Regions from separate parts of the Homo sapiens genome. Here regions 1 and 2 are each linked to region 3. The links are contacts of gene promoters, found by promoter capture Hi-C in human tissues and cell types (Jung and others, 2019). All regions are on one chromosome and are shown on one strand. Each heading gives the region's core, a stretch centred on a gene start or on the middle of the fragment in contact. The rest is flanking DNA. Distances are from core to core; before and after follow the strand shown. Region 1 overlaps FREM1 (FRAS1 related extracellular matrix 1). Region 2 overlaps ZDHHC21 (zDHHC palmitoyltransferase 21). Region 3 holds the start of ZDHHC21 (zDHHC palmitoyltransferase 21).

Region 1 (3,541 bases), core at 230-2,729, 49 kb after region 3:
ATAAACACATTATTATGACTTCATTATACTCAATGAAATGAGTATAGCCCCAACTGTCAAACCTTCATATAATGCACAGAAATTAAAGTGCTTGTTTTTACAAACATATGTAAAATATTTTTCACAAAACAGAATTTTTTATAAATTATTTTTGCAGCTAACTGAGTTATTCCTAGAAGCGATATTTGATTGTGCCTAATTCCCCAGCAGTGCTCATTAAAACCTCTTTAAAAATGCTTTAAGTAAGAAGCCACTAAGTAATTCTTTCTTCTTTAAAAATAAAAAAAACAGAAAGTTTCAAACAAGAAACAAATATATCATGTATACATGTATCATAACATTACATTGTACCCTACAATGTAATTTGTATTATTTGTCAATTAAACATAAAATTAAATTTTAAAAAATAATTTTAAACACTTAAAAAATCAAACAAGGAAAAAAATTAAATCACCATGATCTTTTTGCCTGGTTAATATCCATTGATATGAAAAGAAAAGTAGGAAACAAAATTAGCAACACATTCGGGCAGATAGCTGTTAAATTTAATTTTATTTATTTTGCCTATGTCTTTTCAAAATTCAGATCTATTTCTCTGCTTTTCCAGACTAGATATGGTGAACATAATTTGTCTATTTTTAAAGGATTTCCCTCTACTAATAACAGTATTTTGCTGCTGTCTGATGCAATGATGATTTCTAGGCCTTCTTAGATATATAAGGCTCTTTGCCCCTCCACTGAATGGCCTTAGACCGCTGGATTGGGTTTTGTGACTTGGCTCTGACCTCATTATTGACTCTCAGCTCCTGTCTGACAGTTACAGCAGGTATGATGAGGCATCTCCTCTCCTCCCCTCCCCAACACATCCAACACGCTCACTCTAAAGCGCTGTAGGCTTAGAACACACAATATGAAACTTGGGTTAAATATAAGCTGAGGGAGGGCTTGAGGGACTGTCCCAGTCACTATGACATTTTGTACAGAGCATGAGAGACTAGGATTCTACTTCCTGATTACCCCTTAATTCCCTGACTGAATTCCCTAATTCTCTTATTGAACTAATTTGCTTACTGAAATTCCCTAACTTTGCAGCCTCAACTTCAGCATCAGGATATAATGGGTTTTATTCAAGGATATTTAACATCTTCTCTAGCTTGAAGATTCCTGAAGCTATCTTTAAAACAAACTTGGTAAAATCCATTTTAGCTGCCCAAGTACAATTTCGGTTTTCTTTTTGACTCTCCAGAAAGCAAGAAGTTCCAAAAGAGTGAGATGGGAAGATAGCTCTGCTTCAAGACAGGTAAAATGTTAAGAGCATAGTTATTCGCAAAAGAAACATTTAGGTATTCATATGTTTATTATTTTAGAAAAATATCACTCCTTTTATTTTATGCTCACATACATATAAAATGTGGTGGGTATTATCTGTATAGGTGTATATATGGATATAAAATTATAAATAGGTACACATACACAAATATTTGTAGTATAGAATTAGAAACAGAAGCTTTAATTTTTCTGGCTATAGAAATAAACATCTACTTCTCTGAAAATTTTTGATTAAGTATAGGTAGACTTCAGGGTAACTCTAAGGATAGGCCAGCAGGGGTTCCAGACACTCCTGCGGGAAAACAAAATGGCTTCATAGATAATGCTCTATAATAATATAATTACCAAATGTACAATGACTGCCTGAGGAAATGAGCAGATGAGATTACAACATGTAAATTCAAGAAGTGCATAATCTAGGAGTCTGGCTCCTTTGACTTAGAAAAATAATAAAACACCACTGGGGAGGAAAGAAGACTAGAGATAAAGATTAAGTTGAGTTAGCAATCTGGTTAGGGACAAAGGATAAAGCAAAATTTGCTGTCCTTGTGGAAATATGGGTGTTGTGAATGACCCTCTGTAAAGGACTTTCAGAAATATTTGTTAAATGAATGTATCTATAAACTAGGAATTTGATCATACCTTAGGTTCGCCTTGAAAGGTTAGTTTGATTCAAATCCAGAGGAAACTTAGGATCCATAATTTAATAAAAATCTTATATGTGTTTGCAGTGAGAGAAAAACAATTATTAACACATAATTTTGAAAATCTACTTTGGGTTACCTCAAAACATAGTTAAAATAGACATACTTGTCAGTACACCTATGATGAGAAACCTGCTATACTTAGGGGACCTGTTTTAGAGAGTATAAGGATGAAAAACTAAATTCTATCTCTTTCATTTACTTCCTTGTATACCTGTGAGCAAGTGATTTCGCTTCCTTGAACCTCTTTTTAAAATAAATCCATAAACTGTAGATAAGAGAAGTGATGGAAGGATCCAATAAGCTAATGCATGTGAAACAATTTCATATACTATAAATATAAAAGTAAGACATTATTGACAAGGAGGCATGTAGAACTACAGTCAGGCTAATATAAAAGGGTCATGGGTGAAGGTGCTTAAAACCAAGCTGCAGATGAAATCTTAGATTAAGTGCATGAGAAAGTATCTATGCTTTTAAATTAATTTAGGCCTTAAGTTTATTATTGTGATGATCGAATGGTACAGTATTCATAGATACGTGAAGAACTCATTGCTACTCACCAATAGAACCTAGTCACAATTATTAATAGATGGAACAATAAAATGAAAACAAAAGATGATGGGAGACTGATGTAGGTTTGTCAACATGAGGGCATCGACAATGTTATAAGTTGCTATTATTTCATAAAAAGTAGTTTTTGACAATAAAAAGCTAGACTATTATAATCTCGTAATAAAGAACAGTCCTTTAAAAAAACACACTTGGCAATGTGACACCACCATCCATGACTGAATGGAAAGATATTTCTCAATACTTACTGTCCTTATTTTTCTCATACATTAAGAACCAATGAAAGCTTCATTATAGACCAGTTACTTGCATTGGCCTTTAAGAACCATTGGAAGATGAACAAAAGATAGCTTCTAAACTTCAAGGTGGGAAGTTCTGTTCATCTACATTTTATCAACAAATCCCAGCAATCACCTAACCTTGATAACTTTGGCTGGAGTATAACTACTCTTTCCCTTAATTTTGTAAGCAGAGACACCATAGTATTCTCCCTTTTGTTGCATACTGCAATCATCTTCTTGCTAGTTTAGATAGCTTTTGATCAACATCAAAGCCCTTTCCTCAAGGAGAAAAAAAGACCAATACCACTACTTCTACTGGAGCTTTCAGTGCATTACGACAAACTAAATGACATCTAGTTAAGATGTCATTTTAACAGCTTAACCATCTTAATGACGGAAGAATGTCTTATTTGTTCTTTAACATGTAGCACTAAGGAAATATATGTATTTAAAGCAATTATTATTTGTAAAAATTTTAATATTTTATCTTATTTGATACCACCAACTTATCAACCAAAAAAACCCTGAAAGCCACTGATTAACCTCTCTGGTGACTCTACTCACAGTTAAAACATGAAATACACCAGTAGAGAAAAAGGTGGTTTAACTAGTTTTTGAACACACTTTTAAAACATTTTATTCGCTTTAAAAAAA
Region 2 (3,514 bases), core at 654-3,153, 50 kb before region 3:
AAAAATCTGATTCCACATCCACATTACTTATTCATTAGCCTGGAAAAACTTAGAATTCAGCAAGACACTTAAAACGTTATGTAGCAGGTAAATATTAGGCAATCATTTCAAAACTTCAGTAAAAAGAACCCAATATAGAATCCCTATAAAACATATAAAACCAAAATGATGGGCCTGTGGATGACATAAAAAATTAAGTAAATTCTGCATTAACACTATTTAAAAACACAAATTTGTTCTAACATAATTGATACATTAAACAAGTTTGACCATGGCAATCATTCTTATGCATACTTTTATCTGTGAAAAAATCCTAGATGAACACAAAAAATTGTACCCAGATGAACCAAAATATGTAGGAATACACAAAACACACTCACCCGTCAAACATCTACCAGCCACCTCAGTTTCTCTTCCATGCTATGAGCCACACCCACCCACAACTAGTATTACAACTTTCCCTCCAATTTCACAGACCCTCCCTTCCATCACTTCACAATAATTCACATTCTGCAACCCTCCTGATGCTCACTTCCATAAGAAAACTTCAGGTCTTTCTCAAGGTAAAGTGCCATGTTTATCATAGTATTTATGTATTTCTTAATCACGTAATATTTATATAAAAGAGTGCTGTTGTTTTTATTATATTCCTATCCTTTTAAGTGTCACAGACAAAGTTTCGGAGTGGTAAGCCCTGTGGTTTTAATGCACGGTTTTACACAGTGAGGTGATTTTTAGGAATGCACATATTGCATTATAGCAGAGCTTACTGTACTAAAATTACCATCTATGACCAAATAAAATCCATCCACTCTACTCCCAGTGAAAAGATTTTAAAATAATTTTTGGCCAACTACAATTTATAAATGTCAAGGATGGAGATGAGACTAAAAGATCTACTTATAATATTACATTTATTCATTTGGTTATACATTTATATTTAAAGTATTTATGTAAAATACAGTAGTAAAAAAACTTTAATCTAGAAATTGCTTTTTATCACTTTTACATTTTCAAAAAAACAACTGTATTCCAAGTTCACACATGCATAATTAACATCATCAGCACTAAATCCATATTTTGAGTCACTTAACACTGTTCTCTAGAGTACATCTTTACTTCTGTCTTAGATTTTTTTAGATTTAACACTTTTTGAATCCAAAAATTGGCTTAAAAATTTTTATCCAAATCACAGGAACCCATTTGCTATCCGAGATCTTTACTACATAATCAGTGTTATGGGCTCAATTAGGTCCCCCAAAATTCCTATGTTGAAGCCCTAACCCCTGTACCTTAGAATATGACTGTAGTTGGAGACAAAGCCTTTAAAGCAGTGACTAAAATAAAATGAGGCCCTTAGGGTGGGCACTAATCCAATCCAACTGGTTCCCTTATAAGAAGAGGAAATTTGGACACACTGAGAGACACCATGGATGTTCCCGGAGGAAAGACCATGTGGGGACAGAGAGAAGGTGGTTATCTGCAAGCCAAAGACAGAGGCATCAGGAGAAAACTAACCTGCTGACACCCTGATCTTGGAGTTGTAGCCTACAGAATGTGAGAAAATGAATTTCTGTTGTTTAAGCCACCCACTTTGTTGTATTTTCTTAAGACAGGCCTAGCAAACTAATATAATCAATAAATGTATTTCTTTATTGTTTACATTTCTTCCATTTTTGTTAAAAAATGTGCTCATATACAGATAAATTCATAAAACACATGTGTTCAGTTTAAAGAAAAGTAACACTGGGCTGGGTACGGTGGCTCACGCCTGTAATCCCAGCACTTTGGGAGGCCAAGGTGGGTGGATCACCTGAGGTCAGGAGTTCGAGACTAGCCTGGCCAACAGGCGAAACCCCGTCTCTACTAAAAAATAAAAATAAAAATAAAATAGCAGGGTACGGTGGTGCATGCCTATAATCACAGCTACTAGGCGGGGCTGAGGCAGGAGGATCACGTGAACCTGGCAGGTGGAGGTTGCAGTGAGCCGAGATCGTGCCACTGCACTCCAGCCTGGGCAACAGAGTGAGACTCTGTCTCAAAAAAATATATATATATAAAGAAGAAGAAGAAAAGTAACAGTATCCTCTCAAGAATTAGAACATCTGAAACCAAGTAGAGCCTCCTGTGTATTCCTTCCCCATTGCTGGCTCTCCCTCACCCCTACCCTAAAGGTAAAGGTTACTAACTCCTTCTTCATACATTTTGGATATTGCTATGTTTCAGCTGCATATTGCAAATATCTTCTCCTGCTCTGAAACTACCCTATTCACTCTCTTGATGGCACCTTTTTATAAACTAAAGTCTTAATTTTACGTAGTCCAATGTATCAATCTTTTCCTTTAGTGCTTTTTATATCCTATTTAAGAAATCTTTCCTGATGCTGAAGTAATAATGGCATTCTCCTATATTATCTTGTAAAGCCTTTTAAAAGCTTTGTTAAGTTTTGCCTTTCACATTTAGGTCACTAATTCACATAGAATTATTATTTAATTTTTTTGTGCACAGTGAAAGATAGGAATCTGAATTTACTTTTTGTATATGAATATTCAACTGTTCCGGAATGACTTATCTAAAAAGCTGTCATTTCTTCAGTGACCTGAGATCAAGTATCCATACATGCATGGGCTCTCTACTCTTGTTCCCTTGGTTTGTTTATCCCTGCAACGGTGACAAATGTCTTAGTTATTACGGCTTTGTAATAAGTCTCAATACCTGGTAGGCCATGTCATCCCATCTTACTCTTTTGCAAGAACGTCTTGATTATTCCAGATAATTTGTATTTGCATAAAAATTTTAAAGTTACATTTTCAAGTTACAACACATACTCATGCATACATTCACGTATAATATATTCTCTCCATTACCTTTCGTTAAGTTTCTTCTAAAGGACTTGCACTTTGTCAGATTTAATTCAGCAATTTCCTGTTTTTTGATTCTATTATAAATGGCATTTGCTATTAATTTCATTGTCTAAAGGTTTGTTTGTGAGCATATAAAAATAGATTTTTAAAAATATTGTTTCATAGTCACATTTTTTATACTTTCTTAAAAACCCAAAAGAATCTATAGATAAATCATTTATACAGTTACATCATCTATGTGTAATGACAGTTTTATTTCCTTCAGCAGTTGTACCTTTTCTTTCTTTCTCTTGTCTTACTGCACTGGCTAGAATTTCTAGTAGTATATTTAAGAATAATAATGGTGATAGTGGGGGCATCAATGCCTTGTCTCCAACCTGGAGGGAAGAAGTCAACATTTCATCTTAGCATGCTATAGTTGGTTGATTTTGTGTGTTTTTTTTTTAAGGGGGTCGGGAAGAAAGACCATTTATCTGATTATGAAAGTTCTCCTAAGTTCTAGTTTACTAAGAGTGTGTAACCTGAATGAATCCTGAATTTTATCTTTGTCTTCATACACTGAGATGCTCTATTTGAATTTTTTTTCTAATCTGTTAATGTGATAAAATATACTGACTTATTTTCTAGTGCAAAAACCACCTTTCATTCCT
Region 3 (3,554 bases), core at 1-2,500:
AATCTAAAGAGTTGGAAGAATTTAATATTACACCAAAAGCCTTTTAATCCAGGAATGGCGCATACTAAGCAGTCATCAAATGGTGACTGTTATTAATATTATTCTTACCACAAGGAAAGCAGTGAATTTTTAAAAGTGCATATATTAGCATAGTAGGCTGAGGACCTATTTAACACATCTTTTTAAATTGCACTTAATTATCCTTAGTCGCCTTTGGACTGTAACTTTACAATATAATTTATGACCCGCCCACAATGACCTTGATTTTTTTTTCTCTTCTACTTTTAGAGACTGCTATATTGCAATATTTTAAAGTAATAATTGGTCATGTCCTCTCAGCCCTGGTGATACAGACATCCACCCTGACTCTCAAGGGATCTTAAAATGTGACCCACATATAGCTTGAAAAAGACCGTAACTTAAATGGACTCTGCAGTTACAATCCAGCGACCTGTTACAGTGAACAGTAACAAGTGCAAACTGCTGCCATCCATAAGCCATTTTCCGAAAACCTCTTTGGATCAAGAGGAGAGGAGTGAGAAGGTCAATAAAGGAGCAAACTGTTTGTCCTCTCTGCAGCTTCACACCAGAAGTCTGGAATGAATGAAAAGCTCTGGAATAGCACAGAGAAACCCGGGATCCCAGTGCAGGTCTCCAGACGGGGGTGCGGGGAGAGAAACTGTAGTTTACAAGCGAGAAACTCAGGATACAGATTTAAAATAAATAAATAAATAACTAGCCAACATCGTCTCGACTAGAGCAGGAACCCCCCACCCCCAGTTGAGGGAGGAGCACTTAGCAAGGGGCTGTAGCTCTAGCAGAAGACGCTCTGAAAAAGGCCAGGCCTGGGGCGGGGAGGCACCGAGAAACCCCCGGGTTCCAAACAGAGCAGGTGCAGGGGGCGTGCAGGAACAGGTGAGGGCGTCCCGGCGCGGAGGAGCGGCGGGCGGGCCCGGCAGAGCGGAGCGGGGGCCGGGGATGGGGGTGGGGGTGCGGATGGGGATGGGGGTGGGGGCGGCCGCTTCGCCCCCGCGCCTGCACACTCACCGTCGCCGCTGGCTCGCCTCTCGCTGCCGCCGCTCTCCCGACCGCCAGCAGCTCTTTCCCCTCCTCCTGCCGCGCCACCTCCGCCTCCTCCGGCGCCGCCGCCCAGGCCGGGCCGCTCTCCCCTTCCGCTTCCGGGAGCCTGAGGGCCTGGACCGGCCGAGTGGGTGTCCGCATGCCCGCGCGCCCGCGTGGGGAGGGACGACTGCCGCCGTCGCCGTCTCGCTTAGCTCCCGGGAGCCGCGATGGGAGCCGCTGAGGGCCGAAACTCCTGCAATCGCGCCGCAGCCCCAGAGCCGCGGACCCAGGCAGACCGCACTCTCCAGAGCGCTTGCACCTGGCGCGCCTGGGCGCCTCTGCCCCTCCCCAGCCCTACTTGAGCCGTCCTTCTCATTGTCCCCATATCCTCACTGCTCACCTCTCCCGAGAGACAGGATGGGGGCCTTAGCTTAAAAGATTGCATGTATCCTTTCTTCGGGGGATGTGGCCAGCAGGCCTCTCTCCCCGCAGGTGTTCTGGGATGTCCCATGGTACCTTGCTTCAAAGCGCGGTCTGCAGCATCAGCATCCTCTGGGAACTCACAATCTTTGAAATGCACAATTTCAGGCCTGCTGAATCAGTACATGCACTTCAGCAAGATCACCAGGTGACTCCTGGGGTGCACCGTAAAGATGGAAAAGCATTGCACTGTAGTGCATGGTCTCGTCCACTTCAGACCCTCTATTGGGTTGCCTCAGACATCCCAGGATATTTCCTGTTCCTGTCCTCAACCTAAATCCACACCCAAACAATCTTTTCTTATATTTTGGGAGACCTCCAAAAGTTTCCTGCTTTCCCATCCCTGCAAAAGCCGACAACTTTTGGACTCAGCGATGCAAGTAATCCACCTCTCAGTCTAACTTGGTATCTTCACCAAACACCAGAGATCTACTAACTTTCCCACCTCACTCCGGCTGAACAGTATTTGGGGAAGGTTAAACCGTTTGCAGTAATGTGGAGCTAGATCTTTCTGCCCACGTGCCACAGGAGGAGACAGTGTGTTGGTGGAAGAAATATTACCTGTTGTATAAAATCTGTATTCCTTATAAGATGTGCTTAAAAGCCCTCCACAGACACATCCCTACCTACCTCTCCAGTCTTAGCTCCAACTAATTTGGTTCATTTCCCCATTCTAGAATGCCCTGCTCTCTGATGATCTTAACCCTATCCAGATTTGAGAGTGGAAATCTTGCCAAACCAGAGTTCTCTCACCACTGCCCTTATATAGTGCACATTGTTGCCTGTTTGGGGCCTCATATTACCTTGTATTGCTAAGGATTTTTAAACATGTTGTGTCCTGGTTTCTGAACTAATTATAAACACCTTGTGACCTTAAAAACTTTGGTCAGTGGTTATCAAAGTGGGATCCCTAGACCAGCAGCATCGGTATCACCTGTCAACTTGTGAGAAATCCATATTCTTTTGCCCCATCCCAGATCTACTGTAGTAGAAACTGTTTAGGTGTAGCCCAGCAATCCGTGATGTAACAAGCCTTTTAGGTGATCCTAATACACACTCAAGTTTTAGAATTACTGACCTAGATTACTAGATATTCCCAAAAGAACCCAGTGGTAGGAATTGATTTACCCATAAGCAGATTTTATTGCCTTTCAGGTTAACAAATACACTCCCCGATATATGCATAGCGAGGTTGAAAGACTAGTCACGATTGCTTTTGATAGAATTACCTTTATTTTTCATAAATCATTTGATGTAGTAGGATTTTTGTAACTTTCTCTGTTTGAAAAGAAGGAGATATTTCATATAAACAATCACTTTGAAGGAAGAGGAAATGTGGAATCCTCCCACCGGAATCCAGCTACCTGATTGCGTATTCAATGTGAATCCCTTCTACCCAAATCCAGCTACCTGATTGCATATTAAATGTGGACTCCTCCCTACCCGAATCCAGCTACCAGAATTGCATATTAAATGTAAAATCCCCCCCCCACCCAAATCCAGCTACCCAATTGCATATTAAAAGTAGAATCCCCTCCACCTGAATCCAGCTACATGAATTGCATATTATTTTGCTTTCTCTTCAGATACCCCTGTGAGAGGGAATAATTTGTGACAAGTGATCTCAAAACTGCCAAAATAAGAATTAGTTGACAGGTCCATGATTGCACATGACAATTGGAAGTGCATGGATTTTTCAGTCCCTTTTTAAAATAAGTTAGCCTGTCTTTTATCAGCCAAATCAATTCCACAGAGAATTTTTAAGCAAGGGAATAGGAGAGAAGAGGCAGGAGAAACATCCTTAAAAACATGAACCTTTTTAGCATGGGCATTTCATGAGTATAATCAAAGGCCTGCCTATCCCTTACACTGAAGGTCAAGTCATCTGGTTCTATCATTCATGCTAATCATTGGTTATATTGTATTGCAACCCATACATTCAGGCACCTGGGTAACAATAAGGGGGTGAGGGAGATGTGGCATCAGGTAATCTTTTGAAAAGATTTTCTATT

What was found. The method cuts DNA at HindIII sites, captures the fragments that hold promoters and counts their contacts. A contact is called where the count stands out against the background at its distance.
Region 1: a fragment that was not itself captured here is called in contact with the fragment with the promoter of ZDHHC21 in region 3 in 1 of the 25 tissues and cell types used here (adrenal gland).
Region 2: a contact is called between a fragment that was not itself captured here and the fragment with the promoter of ZDHHC21 in region 3, in 3 of the 25 tissues and cell types used here (liver, lymphoblastoid cells and pancreas).

Annotation. Positions count from the first base shown.
Region 1 is chr9:14,740,706-14,744,246 of GRCh38, forward strand. The region is part of intron 35 of FREM1 (FRAS1 related extracellular matrix 1); the gene reads right to left. Among named protein-coding and RNA genes, the nearest start is that of CER1, 20 kb to the left of the region's middle. The HindIII fragment of the contact is 3,947 bases long and covers 1-3,453 here.
Region 2 is chr9:14,641,208-14,644,721 of GRCh38, forward strand. The region is part of intron 7 of ZDHHC21 (zDHHC palmitoyltransferase 21); the gene reads right to left. Among named protein-coding and RNA genes, the nearest start is that of ZDHHC21, 50 kb to the right of the region's middle. The HindIII fragment of the contact is 6,948 bases long and covers 1-3,514 here.
Region 3 is chr9:14,692,182-14,695,735 of GRCh38, forward strand. ZDHHC21 (zDHHC palmitoyltransferase 21) reads right to left here and starts at 1,251. Exons shown (of 10, transcript NM_178566.6): 1 at 1,048-1,251. RefSeq lists silencers at 893-1,032, 1,113-1,182 and an enhancer at 1,256-1,756. The HindIII fragment of the contact is 8,706 bases long and covers 1-3,554 here.